Regions from separate parts of the Homo sapiens genome. Here all the other regions are linked to region 1. The links are contacts of gene promoters, found by promoter capture Hi-C in blood cells and fetal thymus (Javierre and others, 2016). All regions are on one chromosome and are shown on one strand. The core of a region is centred on a gene start or on the middle of the fragment in contact, and the rest is flanking DNA. Distances in the headings are between cores, read along the strand shown. Region 1 holds the start of ORC2 (origin recognition complex subunit 2). Region 2 overlaps TRAK2 (trafficking kinesin protein 2). Region 3 overlaps CASP8 (caspase 8). Region 4 has its middle 18 kb from the start of FLACC1. Region 5 overlaps STRADB (STE20 related adaptor beta). Region 6 overlaps TRAK2 (trafficking kinesin protein 2).

Region 1 (2,729 bases), core at 167-2,666:
GACCCCTCAAGGCACTGCCTTGGTGCTTATAGGCCAACCCCTTTCAAGGAGTTACTTCAAGGCAATTCTGCAGCACCAAGTGTTAGCATTGCACCAAGTGGTAGCAACACACTCTCCTTTGAAAACAAATAAAAGATTTGCTGTAATTTTTAAAAACATAATCCTTTGAAAAAGAAGGTTGGATAGATTAGTGGTTAAACACCAATTTTAATATTGGAGAAACCTGAGTTCCAATCTCCACTCCATACTTTATAACTGTGTGACTTTGTCCAAAGTCCTGACGATTAAATGAAATGATGTGCCTGATATATAAAAGAGCATCACTGAATGCTCCCAATTATCGGTATTTTTACTTTAACCTTTTTCTTTTTTAGCTCCTTACTGCAGTGCACTGAGATATTTTTACTTTAAACTTCAACTTAACCATGCAGATCTCTTGTACATCTCTAACTCATTCAACATCTAACAGAAAAACTGCTCAATAAGTGATGATGTCCGTTTAACGTGCAGTGCCCTTATATAACGGTGTAGGGCCGTGCTATTTTTCTTCAGATTGCAATTTAACTGCGGGAAAGTGTAATGATTCTATTAGGATTTCAATTGTAAAATGAAAAGTAACGTCTCAACATCTTTTTAATTAAAAAGCTCTACCAAAAGAGCCTGGCTTATCAACATTTTACAGCCAAGCATGGCTCCAAGGTGACCGATCAGTTAGCTGGCAGGACACATTGGTGCCTCCAGGCTGGGATGACATCAAAGGTTCTAGCTACAGTGGTTCTGGGACGCGATCTCTTCCTCTTCATACCTCACAGGGCACTTTACCACTGTCGTTACACATCTTCACAGTTCTCCTTTTCCAACCAGAGGGCTTCGTAAGCTGGGAATCAGGTAGGTTAGTATCAGGCGTCCCTTGCACAAAAGGCCTATAACTGCGGGGCAGACTAACGAAAGGTCCTCCCAGAGTGAGCCTCTCACCTCAAGTCTTAAAGGACTTTGGCCTGCGCCTCCAGCCTCTGGCCAGTTGGCTGCGCTCCACCAGTAAGGGTTCTCGAGCCCCCGGGCAGCCTGCGGGGGGCAGCGAGGCGCAAAGACCATGCCCCAAGTGCCGAGGGAAAGTCCTGAGATGCGCGACTTGGGACGCTAGGGGCCAAGCTCCGACGCGGGGCTGGGTGCACCTGGACGCACCTCACACGCCGCGAGCTAAGCAGAAAAGGGAGGCAGGCTGCCCCGACACCCCACTACTCACCGCTAGGTTTCCGTCTGGCGCCGATCCGGCTGCGTCACGCCGGCCGAACGACACCCCGCTGAGTCGCCGCCGCAGGGAAGGTACCTTCGGCCCCAACGGGAAAAGCCAATTTCCAGTAATTCGCGCCCGACCACCGGGGAGGTAAGGAGCACCGGAGGCCAGCTGGGGGATGGGAAGCCTGCGTGCGGCACACCGAATCTCCCGCCCTGTTCAGGGGGCGGTGCCCGAGGAAGCCAATAGGAAGAGGAGTCGGCCAAGAGCGACGGCTCTGCCGTCCAGTCGGCGCCGGCCATTCGGCCCCGCCCATCAGGAAACCTGAGGAAAACGGATTCTTGGGCCCTGAGTTGTGGGCCTTACCTTTCCTTTCTTCTTTCCGTTTCCGGGGAAGGGAAAAGGAAGTGTTGTTTGGATCTGAGGAAGTTTGCACAGTAGCTGGCTGAGTGGTAGCTGTTTGTCTTGTAGCAATCTTTAAAAAGTGTTCTTTGGGGTCGGGCGCAGTGTCTCACGCCTCTAATCCCAGCACCTTGGGAGGCCGAGGCGGGCGAATCACCTGAGGTCGGGAGCTCGAGACCAGTCTGACCGACATGGAGAAACCCCGTCTCTCCTAAAAATACAAAATTAGCCGGGCGTGGTGGCGCATGCCTGTAATACTAGCTACTCGGGAGGCTGAGGCAGGAGAAACGCTTGAACCCGGGAGGCGGACGTTGCAGTGAGCCGAGATCGAGCCATTGCATTCCAGCCTGGGCAACAAGAGCGAAACTCCGTCTCAAAAAAAAAAAAAAAAAAAAAAAAAAGTGTTCATTGGTTTCCCAGCTACCTTTTGAAGAAAAAGGTAATGGAAATTGATTCGCATTTCTTTTTTAAAGATTTTCTTCATTTGGCGTGAAAGGTAGGATCTTGTACATCTCCAGGGTTTGGGGTAGGGAGAAGAAGAGACGTTAGGAGAAGCACTGAATATGGAGATGGGATCGGACGGCTAGTGGGATGAAGAGGCTGGGGAAATAGAATGAATAGACAGAGAAAATGATTGACTTCAACTATCCAAAATATAAAAAAGACAAGACAGAGAAAATGAGGAAGAAAAGGAATGAACCTGGATGGGATCCATACAGTATTAAGAACAGGGTATTGTTTCATTTGGATTCACTTACTCAAAACAAAACTACAGAGTACTCTGCGAACAGAAGATAAGTATTCATTATCGAGCGAGACAACTACGATCTCTGCATTCACTGTAGTTACCTAGCACGTGAAGATATTGAACGGACAATATTGAGAAAAATACCATGATATGGGAAGTGCATTGGAGCACATGGTAGGAGTAGCTAATTAAAAGCCCAGAAGGAGTCAGGAACAATTTTCTAGGAGGAAGAGATGTTTAAACTGAAACCCCTGTGTTGAATAGATTTAAAACAGGCCAAGAGGGGTAAAATTTTCCAGGTAGAAGGTCCAAATCCGTGTAACAGCTGTGTAAAATGCCAAG
Region 2 (2,843 bases), core at 15-2,514, 480 kb after region 1:
GAAGAAAAAAAACAAGTAATCCGCTCCCCCCAACCATTTGTTCTTGAGCAATTTATATTTGCTTTTAGAAATGACTTATCTGGTTCCAGAGTTGGGTGTATTTACAGTGAGGCAGAATAATCTGTGTGTGTGTTGTATGTACATCACACAATTCTTAATGAGACAACTCCAAATCTGACTTTGGTTCTGTTTTTAAGTGGGTAATTCTACAATATCAAGAAAATAATACAGATGTATTACCATAAATTGGGAAGCATTCTGTTACTTGTTTTGAACTGCTAAAAGTAGTAAATGGAACATAGATAAAAAATAAATCTCTATTCCAATAAATTAAGTCTACCTCTATCTTAGTATCTGGCAAATGACAGGCATTCAATAAATATCTGTTAAATGAATGAATCAGGCTGTAGTCAAATTACATCCTTGTAGTCTATAGTAGGGAGGAAAATGAACTGCATAGGAATATGAGACTGTTAGAACATGTGGAAATGGAAAGCTTTCTTAGCCTAATTTACAAAAGTCTACATAGGTCTCTCATGGGTATCAGTAAAGTAGGTGTACGTGCAGGGCTATACCAACTAAGCTCATCGGTTACTCTGAAGGTGCAAACATTCCCTAGAGATGGGATTGACAACATGATGGCAAAAATACCACAGAATCTTTAATACTTTTTTTTTTTGTGGTTTTCCATGGTTTTCTTATTTTAAAAAACATTGATGGTAAGATGTTTTCCTCCTGAAGTTAACACATGATAACGAGGAAAGTCCAATAAACTGCCATGGGAGGAAAAAAAAAGTCCTTAGGCCAGACAGAAAATAATTTGATGACTCAGGATCATTACTAAGAAGAGCAATTACTGTATTATAATATAATGACTACAGTGATATCCTCCAGGATTATAAACTTTTAAAGAGCTTTTTCTGGGTGGTGTAGCCAAGATGGCAAAATAGAAAATAACCTGCTCAAATGTCCAACAATGATAGACTGGATTAAGAAAATGTGGCACATATACACCATGGAATACTATGCAGCCATAAAAAATGATGAGTTCATGTCCTTTGTAGGGACATGGATGAAATTGGAAATCATCATTCTCAGTAAACTATCGCAAGGACAAAAAACCAAACACCGCATGTTCTCACTCATAGATGGGAATTGAACAATGAGAAAACATGGACACAGGAAGGGGAACATCACACTCTGGGGACTGTTGTGGGGTGGGGGGAGGGGGGAGGGATAGCATTAGGAGATATACCTAATGCTAAATGATGAGTTAATGGGTGCAGCACACCAGCATGGCACATGTATACATATGTAACTAACCTGCACATTGTGCACATGTACCCTAAAACTTAAAGTATTAAAAAAAAAAAGTGCCTCTTAAAGAAGAAAAAAGAAAAAGAAAATAACCCGCTCATATGTGACCCCAACAAGTCTGCACCCATCCATAGTTAAAGAGCTCTTTCTCCCTATAGTAAATAATCCCAAATTGCTATTTTTTTTTTAAGATTTTAAGCCCATTTCTAATTTTGTTTCCTCCCTCACTGTGAGGCTATCAACTACTACACTTTACTGTTGCTAGCTTGCCTCTCCCCTTTCTAACTCGCTGTTGGCTGAGAAACCAGATAAGCAGGTTATCAGAACACCCATAAGGTGTCTGTTTGACTGAACTCCAGGACCTGTTTTTCTGCCCTTGGCTGACTTCCCAAATACCTCTTTCTTTCATCCCTCCAGCACCAGGGATTTAGCTGGCTTTCTCCTCCTCCTTTGGCACTGTCAGCAAGTGCTTTTCTCACCTGGTATTCTTTTACCTAGCCTAGCTATGAACATGAACACACTCTGTCCTTTCTTAACTGTCTCCCTAGAAAAGACAGCTCTTCCTCTATTCTTTTGTGAGAATTTTACTGTTAATTGCTAGGGGAAATATAAAGTGGATTATAAATATGGAAAAAAGGTTTAGGAAATCTTAACATCCCTCACTGTAATTTTTGCTTTTAACCCATTTATGCCTACTGTTCCATTATTGGAATGCTAAGCTTGTGGGAGTCATATCCTACTGCTCAAGGTCATCGCCAAAGTCTGATTTTTCACACAAAAAAATTTGCAACCTCTGGCATAAATGGGTTAATCAGTGTTTATTGATTCCCTTTCTTGGATGATCCCAGAAGATGGCTGCCCACTAGTCATTCTTCCCTCACTACACTGCAAGTTCCTCAAAGGAAGGGACCTTATTTTTGTTATGTCCAAAACCTAACAGCAACTGACACACAGTAGTCTTGCAAAATACGTGCCTACTACCTAGAAGCTTAATCATTAAAAATATCAATACACTGAGTTACAGAAGTAATTTAATGAACAAAGTTGATATTAATACATTTTCAATACAACATCAACTAAATGAATTGCCTTGAAAAACACAGTTAAGCTAAGATTGAATATTCTAAAGAAAAACACTTATGTGCTTTATGAAAAAATCTGCATAAAAGAGTTTGGTGTTAAAAGGGTGCTTTATCATTTTTATAGCAATGACACACTATACACTTTTCTGTAATAACTAAAAAGAACTAGTTGTCAGTCTCATAGGAAAGCCAAAACTCAACATTCATTTGGCTCATTGCTTAGTTTTATCACAATTTCCACTAAGAGCATTTGCAGCTGATCATGAATGCATTTAAAATAAGCCCCACATCAAATGAGAAATGGTCAGATATCTTCTTTTAAAAACTCACAATTGCTAATAAAAGCTTCATTTGTAGTCTTTCAATTTTGTAACTAAAAATAAAACAAAGGCAAATTCAGTGGTTTGGCCTAGTACTTGCTGAGAAAGTTAAGAATGGTTGAAA
Region 3 (2,861 bases), core at 89-2,588, 320 kb after region 1:
TAAAAAGTGACTACAACAACAAAAAATAAAAATCATCCATCACCATTGAGAGATTAATAATTTTGATTTGATCAAAGAACTTTTGGAAATAGTGTTTATCAGGCATAACATCAATTATTGATTTGTTTTGCAAATGGAGGTAAGTTTAGAAAATTAATGTAGACTGATTATAATCATCAGGAGTCTGTAATGGCCCCTATTAACATTTTTTTTTTTTTTTTGAGACAAAGTCTCACTCTGTTGCCCAGGCTGGAGTGCAGTGGTGTGATCTCAGCTCACTGCAGCCTCCACCTCCCTGGTTCAAGTGATTCTCCTGCCTCAGCCTCCCAAGTAGCTGGGACTACAGGCACACACCACCACACATGGCTAATTTTTGTATTTTTAGTAGAGATGGGGTTTTGCCATATTGGCCAGGCTGGTCTTGAACTCCTGACCTCAAGTGATCCGCCTGCCTCGGCCTCCCAAAGTGCTGGAATTACAGGTGTCAGCCACCTGTACCTGGTCCCTGCTAACATTTGATTTGTTTATTTAAGCAAATCTAAGCCTTTAAAAAGGCACAGAGATTAAGTCCATTGATTACATCATTCGTCACTATGCGCTTGGTATTGAAAAAAATATTTTGGACCCTTGATTTGTATTCTTTTAAAATTAAAACATTTCTATTAAAATAACATTTGCTTCTATTTCTGGCAGCTCATTTTCTTATAACTGGCCCATGATTGACTAGTCTCTGGTAGGCATTCGAGTCTGTGTGTCCTGCTTTTTCTGTTCCTGTTCTTATGTTTTATGCTGAATGAGTAAAAGTAGGAGACCCAGCTGCAGAAGTCATTTCTCCTGAGAGACTCCCTTCTGTCCTGCTTCAGTGCCTTCAGACTTGCTTTACAGTCATTTTTTTAATCAACATTCCACATTTCCAAAGGATCAGAATTTTTTTCACAGAACCAACACACTGTATTAGTCTTGCCAAAGTGCTTCCAAATCAACAAGGGCCTATTGCATTTCAGTTATTTTTTTCTATTCCTAATGCTAGACTGTATTTTTTCTTTTTTTTTTTTTTGAGGCAGAGTCTCACTCTGTTGCCCAGGCTGCAGTGCAATAACATGATCTTGGCTCACCGCAACCTCTGCCTCCCAGGTTCAAGTGATTCTCCTGCCTCAGCCTCCCAAGTAGCTGGGATTACAGGCATGTGCCACCATACCCAGTTAATTGTATTTAGTAGAGATGGGGTTTCACCATGTTGGTCAGGCTGTTCTTGAACTCCTGACCTCAGGTGATCCACTCGCCTCGGCCTACCAAAGTGCTGGGATTACAGGTGTGAGCCACTGCACCTGGCTGAGACTGCCTTTTGACTGATGACTTATGTTTAGCTCTGATGTGCTGACAGGGACAAAATGCTGGAGAAGGAATAAAAAAGGAATAATCCAACAAGGATCAAGAGAACAGGAAAGGAGACAATAGCTAATGAAAGGTTTCCAACAATTTGGGGGAGTTGAAAAAAAAGAGTCGAGGTAATTGACTTAACAGAGAAAGCTACAACCTCACTGATTACAGAGGGGAACACGGAAAGGAGGCAAGCCTATTTACCCCCACAGAATCCTGGAAAAATTCAGCAATTGGAAGTACAAAGTGTAGGTGAGGCAATGAGCAGAAAACAGGAAGATTCTTTGAAAGCCTATATAAGCCTATACAATCCTCTGATTCATACCTTCCTCTCATAGAGCCAGCAACTATTCTTATTCTACCATCATAAGGAACAGGAAGTTTGTTTTCTCATAAAATTGAACCAGAGAGGCTCTACACTTCGGTGTGCCAGGCCCAGCAAAGGAAGCAATGAAGCATTTTACTGAACACAGAGAGACTGAAGAAAACCTGCTGGTGGCATGGAGTCAGATCTCTAAACCAACTTGGTTCCAAGACACTGGCAGCAGATACAGACTTACCTCTGGAGAAGCTGAAAGCTCTAGCTAAAATACATACAGATAATGACATCTGGAGGTTTCCTAATGAAATGATCAGGTCCCCAACCAATCATCTTGCTATGAAATCCCTCAGAGAACAAGCCACATCCACAAACACAGAGCTTTCAGTCGACTTTTTAATGGACTAATTAGTCAATTTATGAATGGACAACCAAAGGTCAGCAGGCATTTGAAGAAAGGCTCTAATACGAAAGAGAGGTAGCTTGGTACGGTGGCGTGAAAATCCAGCACTTTGGGAGGCCGAGGCAGGCGAATCGCCTGAGGTCAGGAGTTCAAGCCCAGCCTGACCAACATGGTGAAACCCCATCTCTACTAAAAATACAAAAATTAGCCAGGCATGGTGGCAGGTGCCTGTAACCCCAGCTACTACAGAGGCTGAGGCAGAAGAATCACTTGAACCTGGGAGGTGGAAGTTGCAGTGAGCTGAGATCGTACCACTGCACTCCAGCCTGGGTGACAGAGCAAGACTCCATCTCAAATAAATAAATAAATTACTAGATAAATGAGAGGCAATGCAAACAACAAGAAAAACATGAAACAGAATATGAATGAAAAAAAGATAATGTTGAGAAAAAAGCAACCTTTTTTAATGCTTAATATTGGTATTTAGTATTCTTAGAGAGTTAGTTAAAGGTCCATGAAAGAACAAGATGTTATGAAAAAGGGACAGAACAAGCAAGTCTCCTTGAAAATTAAAAATTTGAGCACCAAAATGAAAAATTCAATAAAGTAGAAGATAAAGTCTAAGGAAGTAGGATAAAAAGACAAAAATAGAAAATAGGAGTGAAAGATAAGAAAATTTGAAGCTAAATCAAGGATGTCCAATTTTTGACAATAAGAGTTCCAGAAAGAAAGGACAGAGAAAGGGGAAATGGAACTTTC
Region 4 (2,700 bases), core at 189-2,688, 410 kb after region 1:
TAGGAATCCAACTTACAAGGGATGTGAGGATCTCTTCAGGGAGAACTGCAAACCACTGCTCAAGGAAATGAGAGGACACAAACAAGTGGAAAAACGTTCCATGCTCATGGATAGGAAGAATCAATACCGTGAAAATGGCCATACTGCCCAAAGTAATTTATAGATTTGATGCTATCCCCATCAAGCTACCACTGACTTCCTTCACAGAATTGGAAAAAACTACTTTAAATTTCATACGGAACCAAAAAAGAGCCTGCATAGCCAAGACAATCCTAAGCAAAAAGAACAAAGCTGGAGGCATCACGCTACCTGACTTCAAACTATACTACAAGACTACAGTAACGAAAACAGCATGGTACTGGTACCAAAACAGATATATAGACCAAGGGAACAGAACAGAGCCCTCAGAATTAACACCACACATCTACAGCCATCTGATCTTTGACAAACCTGACAAAAACAAGCAATGGGGAAAGGATTCCCTATTTAATAAAATGGTGCTGGGGAAACTGGCTAGCCATATGCAGAAAGCTGAAACTGTATCCCTTCCTTACACCTCATACAAAAATTAACTCAAGATGGATTAAAGACTTAAACATAAGCCCTAAAACCATAAAAACCCTACAAGAAAACCTAGGCAATACCATTTAGAACATAGGCATGGGCAAAGACTTCATGACTAAAACACCAAAAGCAATGGCAGCAAAAGTCAAAATAGACAAATGGGATCTAATTAAACTAAAGAGCTTCTGCACAGCCAAAGAAACTACCATCAGAGAGAACAGGCAACCTAGAGAATGAGAGAAAATTTTTGCAATCTATCCATCTGACAAAGGGCTAATATCCAGACTCTACAAAGAACTTAAAAAAATTTACAACAAAAAAACAAACAACCCCATCAAAAAGTGGGCAAAGGATATGAACAGACACTTCTCAAAAGAAGGCATTTATGCAGCCAGCAAACATATGAAAAAAAAACCTCATCACTGGTCATTAGAGAAAATGGAAATCAAAACCACAATGAGATACCATCTCACTCCAGTTAGAATGGCAATGATTAAAAAGTCAGGAAACAACAGATGCTGGAGAGAATGTGGAGAAATAGAAATGCTTTTACACTGTTGGTGGGAGTATAAATTAGTTCAACCACTGTGGAAGACAGTGTGGCAATTCCTCAAGAATCTAGAACTAGAAATATCATTTGACCCAGCAATCCCATTATTGGATATATACCCAAAAGATTATAAATCATTCTACTATAAAGACACATGCACACGTATGTTTATTGCAGCACTGTTCACAATAGCAAAGACTTGGAACCAACCCAAATGCCCATCAATGATAGACTGGATAAAGAAAATGTGGCACATATACACCATGGAATACTATGCAGCCATAAAAAGGATGAGTTCGTTTCCTTTGCAGGGACATGGATGCAGCTAGAAACCATCATTCTCAGCAAACTAACACAAGAACAGAAAACCAAACACTGCATGTTCTCACTTATAAGTGGAGTTGATCAATGAGAACACATGGACACAGGGAGGGGACCATCACACACCAGGGCCTGTTGGGGGGTGGGGGGTGCCTAGGGGAGGGACAGCATTAGGAGAAATACCTAACGTAGATGACGGGTTGATGGGTGCAGCAAACCACCATGGCATGTGTATACCTATGCAACAAACCTGCATGTTTTGCCATGTACCGCAGAACTTAAAGTATAATAATAGTAATAATAATATGTGCCAGATGCAGTGGCTCATGTCTGTAATCCCAGCACTTTCAGAGGCCAAGGCAGGAGAATCGCTTGAGTTCAGGAATTTGAGACCAGCCTGGGCAGCATGGTGAGTCCCTATCTCTGCAAAAAATACAAAAATTAACTGGACTTTATGGAACACACCTGCACTTCCAGCTACTTGGGAAGTTGAGGTGGGAGGATCGATTGAGCACAGGAGGTTGAGGTTGCAGTGAGCCATGATTGCACGACTGCACTCAAGCCTGGGTGACAGAGCAAGACTCTGTCTCATAATGAACAAATAAACAAAAAAACAGATACTAGCGAGGCTGTGGAGAAAAGGGAATGCTCGTACACCGTTGGTGGGAATGTAAATTAGCTCAGCCACTTTGGAAGGCAGTTTGGAGATTTCTCAAAGAAATTAAATCAGAACTACCATTCAACCCAGTAATTCCACTATTGGGTATACATCCAAAAGAAAATAAATCATTCTACAAAAAGATACATGCATTCATGTTCATCGCAGCATTATTCACAATAGCAAAGACATGGAATCAACCCAAGTGTCCATCAGTGGTGGACTGGATAAGGAAAATGTTGTATATATACACCATGGAATAGTATGCAGCCATAAAAAACCCTGAAATCATGTCCTTCATGGCAACATGCATGTAGGTAGAGGTCATTATCCTAAGCAAATTAACACAGAAACAGAAAACCAAATACTGCATGTTCTCACTTACAAGTGGGAGGTAAACACTGGCTACTCAAGGACATAAAGATGGCAACAATAGAAACTGGGGGCTATTACAGCAGGGATGGAGGGGGGAAAGGGTTGAAAAACTATGTATTGGATGCTATACTCTGTATCTGGGTAACAGGATCTATCATACTCTAAGCCTCAGCCTCATGGAACATATCCAGGTAACAACCCTGCACATATATCCCAGAATCTAAAATAAAAA
Region 5 (2,700 bases), core at 64-2,563, 490 kb after region 1:
GCCTTATCTTTTAAATCTTTCAGAAATTCCTTTTACAAATTTCCATCTGACCAAAAGCAAGCCAAACAGTATTAAAAATAACCCCTTTGACTTAACCGAAATAAAATCATTTGGATCAATGTATATATGAGGTATAGCTGCCAACTGGTTTTCTATTTATATTTAGATCCGTGGTATCTACTTTAGATTAAGTAGCTTGAGGACTTTCATCCTGTTTTATACATAATAATAATATTTGAATAGGGAATACTTATATTAAAATGTGGTTTTTAAAAAAGTAATGAGTAGACCACGTGTAGTGGCTCACACCTGTAATCCCAGCATTTTTAGGGGCCAAGGCTAGAGAATCAGTTGAACCCAGGAGTTCAACACCAGCCTAGGCAACATAGTGAGATCCTGTCTGTATAAAATATTAGCCAGACGTAGTGTCATATGCCTGTAGTCTCAGCTACTCAGAGGGTTAAGGTGGGAGGATCCCTTGAACAAGGGATCAAGGCTGCAGTGAACTGTGATCATGCCATTGCATTCCAGCCTGGGTGATAGAGGGAGATCCTGTCTCAAAAAAAAAAAAGGATGAGTATATTTGTATGATGATTTATAGTTTACAAATACTTTCATATATTTCTTTCATAGTTTCAAATTGTGTAAGTTTAGCAGGGCAGGTGGCATTATCCTCATTTTCAGTTTGTCCAAGATTGCAAAAAGTTGGAGCCAGACTCATACCTGCCAATCTATTCTATCAATTACCAAGGCTGAGAGGCAGAACTATGAAGTTAGAAGACTGGATTGTTAGTAATATGGAAAATACATAACACAGTTACTTACATGTTTAAAGTAAAGCATTACCACTTGAAAGAGAAGCTTTATATATCTGGAAAATACACGGAGGTGAAATGTTTTATTCTGTAAAGGAGGGATCAGCAAGCTTTTCTGTAAAGGCCAGATAGTATTTACAGACCCTTTGGTCTTTGTTACAGCTACTTTTCTGCTGAAATACTAGCATGAAAGCAGCCATAGGCAATATATAAATGAATGAATGAATGTATCTGTGTTCCAGTAAAACTTTACTCACAAAAACAGGTGGTGGGTCAGATTTGGCTCATGGACCATAGTTTGCCGACCCTTACTCTAAAGGATTACTTAAGATTTACAATTTTATATCAATTTTTAAGTTGGAAAAGATGTGAAAGGGCATTCAGTCTATTCCCTTCATTTGATAGGCGAGAATTGTGAGATTCAAAGGGCTGTGTGTTGCCCAGGGCTTTCAAATTTTGGAAAAAGAATATCTTAGCCTATTATTCCATAATTATGGGTTTTGTGAAAAATAATAGAATGTGATAATGGGTGATTTATATCGTTAATGATTGTAACTTTAAATCACATTTTTCTGCAATGGTGAAATATTTTAAATTCTTTGAATCGAAATATTTACTTTTTTTCCTTAAACGAGAAATTTGTGCAGTTGGGATAAAGTTGATACTTTTACTTAAGGATTCCTCCCCATTCAAGTTTTACCCTCTATTTGAGAACTAAGAAATGCTGTTTTCAAAGGAGCAGCATATGTAAAAATATCTTCTTTCAGTTTCTTTGTAAGGTCTAACTACTTTTTACTTGGCTATTATGATAATGGATAAAGAAATTATATTCAAAAATATTCAAAGGGAAAAGGTATGTGGGGTGAAGTTCAGAGGAAACCAGGCACAAGCTTTCAAGAATCTTTTCTCAGTGGAGTTCCATAGTATATGCACAGTTCCCCCAGAGTTGTGACATGTGAAATGTTGTCTACTAGGGAAGCTCATTAGAGACTTGGACTTAAGGTTTTTATTGGGGACTTGTCACGTAGGCGTGCTCTGCTAGCAAGTAACAAAATTCCAGTCTCCCAGAAAAAAAGCCAGGTGTTCAGCATAAACTGTATTATTTGCACAAACAGTTTAGACACAGTGAGCGATTCTTATGAAGGGAACCTCTGCAAAATCCCAGTTCCCAGATACTAGCCAAGGGTCAACCTTATAAGCAGCTATTTTCTAAGAATAGCAGTTTTAGGCCTGCTGTTAATTCTTCTTTTGCACAGTGGTATTAATGGTCGTTGTGAAAAATTCAAGCTAAATGTTGTAAAAATATATAAATACCAAACAATATATAAATGTCCTGCCCAGCTGGTGGATATTTTCAATATGAACAACAGTAATAAGTATCTTCAAAAACTGTTTTATTATAAATGTTATTCACCCTAGGAAGCCATTAGAAACTCTGCAGAGGAATCAGTTGTACAGCTATCTTGACATTGTTAGCGTCTATTCTTCAGGGTGAGTTTTACATAAAACAGTGGGAATATATACCAAATTTTTGTAATAGATTTATAAAGTATACAGACTGTAGGAATTCAAGTTAAAATAATCAGTAATGAAGGCTAACTGGGACAATGACTAGTTTGATTAGTGAGAAATTCTGGCATATCTTAAAAGGAAATTTATATTTAAGTAATTGACTACAAAGTGTTAAGTAGACATAGGTAGACATATCTTAAGAGACTCATTTGATATTGTACTTTAATGTTAATATAAAAATAAGATGCTTGAAATGAAAAATTCTGAAATGGCTGTGGTGGCTCACGCCTATAATCCCAGCACTTTGGAAGGCTGAGGTGGGCGGAACACTTGATTGAGGTCAGGAGTCTGAAACCAGCCTGGCCAACATGGT
Region 6 (2,822 bases), core at 153-2,652, 430 kb after region 1:
TCAAACATAAAAAACAAAATTATGCCTCCCTATTTTTAAGAAAATCTACTAAAATGTATAGTTTCAGTCTTTTAAAAAAGTTCACAGGATTGCACAGAAGTTTAAGAATCAGATTGTTAAAACAACTCTTTGAACCAACATTACAAATTCTAATATAAACTCAGAAGTTTTTATTAATTTTTTAATACAAAAATACCATTTATAAATGAATCAAACAAAGATGAATCTTGTTCTCATGAAGCTTACATTCTAACAAGTTAAAAATATCAGGAGACTCAAGATTTATTGAAAGAGGTTTTAGATATTCAAAGCACCACTTAAGTAAGTGGCAGGCTGTGGGCCTAGGGTAGGATGACCCAAGTTTAACTAGTTCTATGGTACACAGTCCTAAACTGAATTTCCTTAGGGCTCATCTTATGTATTATTGATACAATATATCTGGAAAGTCACCTGTTAGAATAAATAAGAGTATTAAGGAAGATGTCAATATACAAATTAGGGCCTAAATCAATAATTGGAGTCCAGAAACAAGGAAAAAATCTCTTCTCCAGATGTTTTATACCATCATAAACCATCAAACTTTTAGGACAAACTAATCTTAAACAAATTTCTTTAAATACATAGCATCTTTCTTAGTTGCTTACCCCAGTAAAAGCTCCATATGATTGGGAGAAGTAGAGATGAGCAGTAGGGCCAGATCTACTACGAAGTTCCTTTATTTCTTCTTGGGATTCATGTAACATTCCTAGACACTCCATATTCCTGTCTTGTAACTCGTGCAGCTAAAAGAAAGGATGGTAGTGTACTTTATTGCCTTCCCAAAACAACATTAGGGAAAAAAAACCCGAAACCTTTTGGGATAAGTATTGATTTTACCCAGAGGGCTAGCTAACTTTATGAATATCATTTCAATACAAAGACTAAAACAAACTAAGCAAGAAGCGTATATATATATATTGAGCTACCAGAATTAGGGAGGGGTGTCTTGGCCAAAATTATACACGGATGTGACTTCCTGAAAGTCTGAAACGTAGCTAGACTACCAGAACTGTCAATTTAATATTGAATGCTTCATACACTTAACAGAGGAAGTATAACAGCTACAGTCAAGTTAGGTTTAGTATAATATTAATCTTTTTAAACATCACTCTGAAGTCTGTAAGTGACAAGATCAAGAGCCTACAAAGTGTTATATACAATGTCAGTGTGCTCAATCCTCCTAAACAAGTAGATCTTCGTGCCTTGTTTCAGAACCTTCTTTACAACTAGATATACACATCTGATAAAAGAGTACATAATTTTCAGAGTATATTTTAACTGTAAAATTTCTTCAAGTGCAGTATATGCCCCAGTTCATCAGAATCACCAGGGTTGAAGATGCTTATTAAAAATGCAGATTCTAGGCTCTCACTCCAGACCACTTGAAGTAGAAGCTCTTGGGATGGTGCCTGGAAATCGCCATTTAAAACTTGCTCTCCGAGGTGATTCTTTCCCCCTCCCTCCTACAAGATATCACTCTGTTGCCCAGGGTTGAGTGCAGTGGTGTGATTATGGCTCACTACAGTCTCAATCTTCTGGGCTTAAGTGATCCTTCTACCTCAGCCTCTCAAATAGCGGGGACCACAGGCGTGCACCACTACACCTAGCTAAGTTTTTGATTGTTTTGTAGAGACGAAGGTTTCCTTATGTTGTACAGGCTGGTCTCAAATTCCTGGGCTCAAGCCATCCTCCCACCTTGGCCTCCCAAAGTGCTGGGATGACAGGCATGAGCTACTGTGCTTGGCTCCAGGTGATACTAATGCATGCTAAAGAATCACTAAGTTATATTTAATAAATAAAATTTTATGTAGATAGAAAGTAAGAGATTTTTTGCTTCTTCTCCTGACACACCTGCACAAAGATTTACTACTAGAACTTATCTTATTTTAAAAACTGTTGAGCTAGTTTAGGTCAGCTGGTAAAAGAGTGATATACTCCTAAAGAATCTTATAAAGTTGAGGTTTTCCCTATTAATCAAGAAGGATGTTACCACGTTACTAGTTTTAGGGACAGGACTTTTAAAATGCTTTATTCTTTTTCTTTCTTTTTTTTTTTTTGAGACGAAGTCTTGCTTTGTTGCCCAGGCTGGAATGCAGTGGCACATCTGGGCCCACTGCAATCTCTACCTCCTGGGTTCCAGTGATTCTCCTGCTTCGCCTCCTGGGTAGCTGGGATTACAGATGCCCACCACCATGCCCAGCTAACTTTTGTATTTTTATTAGTGATGGGGTTTCACCATGTTGGCCAGGCTGGTCTTGAACTCCTGACCTCAGGTGATCCACCCACCTCGGCCTCCCAAAGTGCTGGGATTACAGGCGTGAGCCACCACAACCAGCCAAAATGCTTTACTTCTTAGATCTCATAATATCATCTTAACCTTTTGTTGTTGTTTTTTAAATCTGGTAATTCCCCTTTAATAATTCTTATTCATGAAGATGAAAGAAACTAGTCACTCTTTCCCCTCCTGAATTACACAAGATAAAGATTTCATTACCTCCATTGTCAGTTGCCGTTGGGCATCTTTGGAAGCTTGCAGGTGAAGTTTTAGTTCTTCCTTCTCAATCACATGCTAACAACATATTAAAAAAGACATGTGAAGCCTTTCCAAGTAAAATATAGCTATTCTCTTTCTTATAAAGACATGTGAAGAATTTCTCTCTGGGGTATCATCTTAAAGCCTACAAAAAGCTAACCTTTCAAAAGCTAAATAAGATAGGCATTCGAATACAAAATCTATCAAGGTGTTCAGAGGACAATGGGCATGAGTCAATAATTTACACCAC

Evidence for each region. Contacts are between HindIII fragments. The CHiCAGO score rates a contact against its expected background, and 5 or more counts as called.
Region 2: a contact is called between a fragment that was not itself captured here and the fragment with the promoter of ORC2 in region 1, in 1 of 17 cell types (neutrophils). The highest score is 6.5, in neutrophils.
Region 3: a fragment that was not itself captured here is called in contact with the fragment with the promoter of ORC2 in region 1 in 2 of 17 cell types (neutrophils and total B cells); the score reaches 7.9 in neutrophils.
Region 4: a fragment that was not itself captured here is called in contact with the fragment with the promoter of ORC2 in region 1 in 1 of 17 cell types (neutrophils); the score reaches 5.1 in neutrophils.
Region 5: a fragment that was not itself captured here is called in contact with the fragment with the promoter of ORC2 in region 1 in 1 of 17 cell types (neutrophils); the score reaches 5.5 in neutrophils.
Region 6: a fragment that was not itself captured here is called in contact with the fragment with the promoter of ORC2 in region 1 in 1 of 17 cell types (activated CD4 T cells); the score reaches 5.1 in activated CD4 T cells.

What each region holds. Positions count from the first base shown.
Region 1 is chr2:200,962,244-200,964,972 of GRCh38, forward strand. ORC2 (origin recognition complex subunit 2) reads right to left here and starts at 1,417. Exons shown (of 18, transcript NM_006190.5): 1 at 1,247-1,417. It overlaps LOC105373835 (a long non-coding RNA gene), which reads left to right and starts at 1,189. Exons shown (of 3, transcript NR_187976.1): 1 at 1,189-1,387. RefSeq lists an enhancer at 650-719 and a silencer at 1,428-1,826. The HindIII fragment of the contact is 10,169 bases long and covers 1-2,729 here.
Region 2 is chr2:201,438,721-201,441,563 of GRCh38, forward strand. The region is part of intron 1 of TRAK2 (trafficking kinesin protein 2); the gene reads right to left. Among named protein-coding and RNA genes, the nearest start is that of TRAK2, 11 kb to the right of the region's middle. The HindIII fragment of the contact is 1,540 bases long and covers 495-2,034 here.
Region 3 is chr2:201,277,498-201,280,358 of GRCh38, forward strand. All of the region lies in intron 7 of CASP8 (caspase 8), which reads left to right. Among named protein-coding and RNA genes, the nearest start is that of CASP8, 18 kb to the left of the region's middle. The HindIII fragment of the contact is 3,204 bases long and covers 1-2,861 here.
Region 4 is chr2:201,374,046-201,376,745 of GRCh38, forward strand. No RefSeq gene overlaps it. Among named protein-coding and RNA genes, the nearest start is that of FLACC1, 18 kb to the left of the region's middle. The HindIII fragment of the contact is 4,146 bases long and covers 1-2,700 here.
Region 5 is chr2:201,455,145-201,457,844 of GRCh38, forward strand. The region is part of intron 2 of STRADB (STE20 related adaptor beta); the gene reads left to right. Among named protein-coding and RNA genes, the nearest start is that of STRADB, 4.8 kb to the left of the region's middle. The HindIII fragment of the contact is 780 bases long and covers 924-1,703 here.
Region 6 is chr2:201,392,265-201,395,086 of GRCh38, forward strand. TRAK2 (trafficking kinesin protein 2) reads right to left here. Exons shown (of 16, transcript NM_015049.3): 9 at 2,534-2,608; 10 at 645-782. Among named protein-coding and RNA genes, the nearest start is that of FLACC1, 36 kb to the left of the region's middle. The HindIII fragment of the contact is 2,327 bases long and covers 240-2,566 here.